2 separate regions of the Homo sapiens genome follow, and region 1 is linked to region 2. The links are contacts of gene promoters, found by promoter capture Hi-C in blood cells and fetal thymus (Javierre and others, 2016). All regions are on one chromosome and are shown on one strand. Each heading gives the region's core, a stretch centred on a gene start or on the middle of the fragment in contact. The rest is flanking DNA. Distances are from core to core; before and after follow the strand shown. Region 1 has its middle 18 kb from the start of LLPH. Region 2 holds the start of WIF1 (Wnt inhibitory factor 1).

Region 1 (2,712 bases), core at 194-2,693, 990 kb after region 2:
TGATGCATACTACAAGATGGATAATAGAGAACCTTGAAAACGTGATGCTGAGTGAAAGAAGCCAGACACACAAGGACAAATATTCCATGATTCCCTTTATATGAGGTATCTAGAGTAGTCAAATTCAGAGAGAGCAAGCAGAATAGTGGAGACTAGGGGTGGAGGGAGGGGAGAATGGGGGGTAATTGTTTAATGGGTGCAGAGTTTCTGTTTGAAATGATAAAAAATTCTGGAAACAGTAGTGACAGTGGTGATGATTGCACCACGCTGTGAAGGTACTTAATGCCACTGAATTGCACACTTAGAAATCGTTAAAAAGATAAATGTTTATGTTTGTATATTTTACCACAATAAAATATCTACTGTTTTCTCTCAGGAAAAAGCAGTAGAAGCCAAGATGCCCTGGCAGTGACAGCCATGGAGTGTGTGAGGAAAAGAGATTACAGAGCGTAAGTGGCATGGGTTTACCTAAGGCAGTTTCCTCCCAGGGCCGGTCAGTGTGTGTCAAACAAAAGGGACTGTCTAGCTAGAGATCACTTTAGAAGTGTCTGACCCATCTAAAGGCAACAATCTCATCAAAAAAACAAAGCAGAACACTGTACAAAGTCTCTCCAGGGCAAGGGTACCAATTTGTCACTCCTGGTATTAGACATCAATATAATGTTAGACCTGCCAGATTGCAGTGGTTGTGAAATCAACTGGAAGTGAAGAAATGGAAGAGAGTATGCTAAGAAGCTTCAATTTGGTCTTGCAGCCATGGGAAGTTTCCTAGCAGGAGAATGACTTACTGAAAGGAATGTTTTAAAAGGCTTAAATTTTACAACCCTTCAAGGGTACCCCAGACAAGCACTCACTCACTCCTGGAAGGATTACTAATTGTTTCAGCCTTTCAGGAGAGCAGTTTGGCAATACAGATAAGGAGTCTTAAAGAAAAGTTCATACTCTTCTAGAACCCTTCCTCAAGAATATAATCAGATAAGGATTAGACTTACATGTAAGGTCATTAATATTACAGAGAAGTATTTTAATAGCAAAAATAAAAAGTTTTTTCAGAAAAAAATTAAATGTCCAAAAGTAGACAAATAAAAAAATATATAGTTTATCACAAGACAGAATGAGGGAACTTTTCAAACAACACTCTTAAAAAATTTCCAGCAGCATGGGAAAAAAATCCCCATGATATAAAGTTAAGAAAGCAGAATATAAAATTATACAGTATTAAGACAATTATGAAAATATACACAGAGCTACACATTCTCTGGGTGGTTGGATTATGAATTATTTATTTCATTTATACTTTCTTGGGTTTTAAAATTTTCTCCAACATACATGTGTTACTTTTATGAGAAAAAACAACAAAAGTTATGGAAAGAAAAAGAAGTTGACAACCACACAAGATGAATTAGAAGGGAAAGAGTAGAGACAAAAACAAAAAAAATCTGGCCTTTGATGGAGGGCATGGGGGAGGGGGGAAGTTTGTTACTGCTGTTTTGTTTTGTTTCAAGTAAAAGATGTTATACTACCTGTGGAACAAAGAGGCACAGCCACCAATGGGAAAGGATTGGTTATTAACTACGGCAGAAACAGACCTACAGAAAAGATCACTAGTCACACACCATAGCTTTATTTAACAACCCCTCTTTTATAGAAAAGAATACAATTAATTTTGACATTAGTCCAAATGTTATTATTTGTGTGGTTAATTGTCACCTATTTATGGTTTTGAAAAAGATTGGTCTGTGAATACAAAGACTCTTGGGCTCCTGGTCTCTGCCATGAACTACTAACCTCTTGGGGAAATTGGCCTCAGTTTCCTCATCTGTTAAGAAGCACAAGTTAAAATAGATGATCTCTAAAACGTTTTCCAGCCTTAAATGCTATGACTATTTTAGTCCATATTAATTTCCTATTAATGAAACCAACCTGTAAGTGTATTTTCAGCTAGACCACCCACCAAATCAAACTAAATTGGAATGTCTTTACATGTGCCAGTATTCTAGGTGCCATATTAAATTAAAACAGAGTTCTTTCTCCAGCATTTAACATTTTCAAAAATTGTTTGTAGACTTAAGGGAAAAGTGAGTTATGAGATTTGTGAAAAAAGCTCTACAATGGGACAATCTTTTTTTTTTTTTAAGTCCAAAGACTAAAAGAAGCTTAGTTGAGGTGGCAGATGGGGAACACACCTAAACATACAAACAACCTTTTGGTACCACCTGCCTTGCATTGATACAGAGTGAGGGTAAGCTTGTCTATTTTTTTTTTTTTTAATACAACTGCCTTCCAATAAGAAACTTGGAGGGATTCTCCAAATATAAAATGCAACAGGATGGAAACATAAAACCAGATCCAACTCACCTGAATTTTCAAATAAAGAACAAAAGCCTTCATTTAACAAACAGAAAATATTTTATTTTTTTACTTTTCATTTTTCTTTTCAGTAGTGGTACTTCTTGCTATAGAAAATATTTTAAAGCAGCAGTCTGCAAACTTTTTCTTAAAAGGCCAAATTTTAATTTAGGCTTTGCTGATTATACAAGAATCTCTGTCACAACTATTCAGTTCTGCCTTTGTAGCACAAATTATTCACAGACAATTCATGGACATGTGGACATGGCTTTGTGCCAATAAAACTTTTTTACAAAAACAAAGGGCCAGCCCATTTGCATACTATCTTAGTCTATTTTCTGTTGCTATAACAGAATACCTGAG
Region 2 (2,700 bases), core at 185-2,684:
ACTTGAAAACATAGGCTGCAATATTTTATAACGTTCTTACATGACACCTTTTGGGTCTAACTTCTACCAGAAATATGCAACATTCACGTTCCAGTGAATAACATTCAACATACTGACTTTTTAAAAGTGCACAATGTCAAAAATACTTACAAACTTTAAAATTTGTTGTAAAGTATGAAGAATGTCACAAGTGATTAGAAACTACTATGCAAAAAGAGTCCTTTAAGTATGTTAAATTTTAATGTCAATGATCACAGAAACACAGTGATGTTGGTATTGGAGGTCTTTATATTTCCAGCAGCCTCAGGACACTGAGTCTTATCAAAATAATGGGCTTAGGCACAAGGCTTGTTCTTTTCTTTTGAAGATCATTAATTGATATGGCAACTTGAAATAAATGGAAATTAATTCTTTATTTGCTTTGGCAATCAGATGAGAAATTTCTCTTAATAACTGTAAAATGTACCAGGCTACACACTATACAGTACTATTTCCACCTGCCATAAGGCAGTGGAAATATTAAAGGGTAATTTTCTCAGAACTTACCTGCCCTGCAGCTTGCCAGGTAAAATTCATGGAATGGATATTGACAGGAATAGCTGGCATTCTCTGTTGTGCTTTTCTGAAATCATGTGTAAAAGGTGCCATTTTCCCCTCTGAAACAATCAGGATATCTTCTTCAAATCCTGGTTTTTAAAATAATAAAACGATCAAACCAGGTAGACTTGAAATCATCTAAATCAGAAGTTTCAAGCAAAAAGAAAACCAAAGAATTAGTGTGGGTCATTTCTGTTCACAAGCATCTGCCTTCAGTACCATCAACGCTACTAAGATTAATTTTTCTCTGTGGATGATGAGAATGATGCCAACAGACCCATGCTTTCAGGGAAAAGGGATGGACATGGAGTTAACCGACGCAAAAAAATGCCGGGTGCACCTAAAAACGCAGGGCTATAAAAATTAACAACAGCATGATCAGAACACTAGATCAGCTTTGGTTTCTTAAAAGAGAAGTTTATAAGCTTTCAGATGGAAAATATCTAATTAAAAGAGGGGAACACTCTTTTGTGGAAATTAAGTTTTAAAACACAAGAAACGCAGGTATCCCTCTTTCTTGAAGAGTGGAGAGAGGAGGACATAGGCAGGGGAAGGCGCTGGAGGCGGGGGCCTTACCTATGAGTACTCTTGCCTGGTGAGCATCGATCCATAGGTACAGGCTCTCCTCCTGCGGCGGCCCGGCCTCCGCCCGCAGTGCCAGCAGGCACAGGAGGATGCTCCAGAGCCAGAGCGCGGCGGCAGGGAAGGCGCTCCTCCGGGCCATGCTGCTCAGGACCTCCTCGCTGCCGGGAAAACTCCTCGTGCCGCACCTACGCAACCTGGCGCCGTCAGATACTCTGCTGCGCTGCAGCTCCCTCAGCCAGGGCTGTTCCCGTTTAGACGGCTGGGCGCGTCGCCTCCCGGCCTGGGTGCCAAGGAGCCTGCGAGAGCAGGAGGAGGGGGCAGGCAGGACGCGGGAGGAGGAGGGGGGGACCAGCGGGCGCGAGTCGCGCAAGAAGATGGGGCGCGGGCGGGAGTGGGGGCGGCAGAGACGTAAGACTGGCAAAGCTGGCGAGGCCAGCAGTCAGCGGGGCAAATAGAGCGAGAACAGAAGAGCGGGAAGGGCTGGCGCGAGCGAGGTGCGAGCGAGGAGTGGGGCCCGCGAGGCCTGGGCGGCCGCCACTTGGGGGCGCTGTGGGGCCCCCCCGGGGGCGGGGCCGCGAGGGACCCCCGAGGCTGCATTCACAGTGCGGTGCGCCCAGTGGAGCGCCCGCGAAGTGGGCGTGTAGGGCTGGCGGACCCGGAGAAGGGCACTCAGAGACCCCTGGGACATCACTCGCCACCTCCTCGGGCCAAGGGAGGCTTCGGGGGAGGGAAATGGGGAGAGCAGACAACGCTGGGCTTGACTGAGTGCTGATGATGGTGATGGTGATGGTGATGATGATGATGATGATGATGATGAGGTGATGACTCCTGTTCCTCCTCCGGCGCTCACTGAAGGCGCAAATTGCCCTTCGTCTCCCTTTCAGCCAGTAGGATTCCTCTCTCCGCCAACCCTATGCGCTCCGTTCTGCGATAGGCTGGCACTTTGCGCGCTCCCAAGCAGTTAAAACTCGAGGCTCGACTGTCCGATGGTGCCGATGGCAGGCGCTGGCCTTGGCTCGAGGCGCAGGGCGTCCAGCTGGTACTTGCCCGACACCCAGCATTTGGGGATTCCCGTCTGTCTCCCTGATAACCCGGCAGTGCCCGGAAGAGTGCCCTGGGCCCTGGACGATAGCTGTACCTGACCCTCCGGGGTAGGGCTCCTCTAACATCGTGGATATCTTCACGTTTGCTGATATTTTTTAAAAGTTGCTGAATTCGGCCGGGCGCGATGGCTCACGCCTGTAATCCCTGCACTTTGGGAGGCCAAGGCGGGCGGATCACCTGAGGTCAGGAGTTCGAGACCAGCTTGGCCAGCGTGGTGAAACCCCGTCTCTACTAAAAATGCAAAAATTAGCTGGGCATGGTGGCGGGGGCCTGTAGTCCTAGCTACCCGGGAGGCTGAGGCAGGAGAATCACTTGAACCGGGAGGCGGAGGTTGCATTAAGCCAAGATCGTGGCACTGCACTCCAGCCTGGGCGATAGAGCGAGACTCCGTCTCAAAAAATATATAAATAAATA

Evidence for each region. The method cuts DNA at HindIII sites, captures the fragments that hold promoters and counts their contacts. A CHiCAGO score of 5 or more calls a contact.
Region 1: a fragment that was not itself captured here is called in contact with the fragment with the promoter of WIF1 in region 2 in 1 of 17 cell types (M2 macrophages); the score reaches 5.1 in M2 macrophages.

Annotation. Positions count from the first base shown.
Region 1 is chr12:66,111,067-66,113,778 of GRCh38, forward strand. No RefSeq gene overlaps it. Among named protein-coding and RNA genes, the nearest start is that of LLPH, 18 kb to the right of the region's middle. The HindIII fragment of the contact is 1,421 bases long and covers 734-2,154 here.
Region 2 is chr12:65,119,871-65,122,570 of GRCh38, forward strand. It overlaps WIF1 (Wnt inhibitory factor 1), which reads right to left and starts at 1,435. Exons shown (of 10, transcript NM_007191.5): 1 at 1,174-1,435; 2 at 547-686. The coding sequence starts at 1,321. RefSeq lists a silencer at 1,596-1,755. The HindIII fragment of the contact is 2,494 bases long and covers 1,021-2,700 here.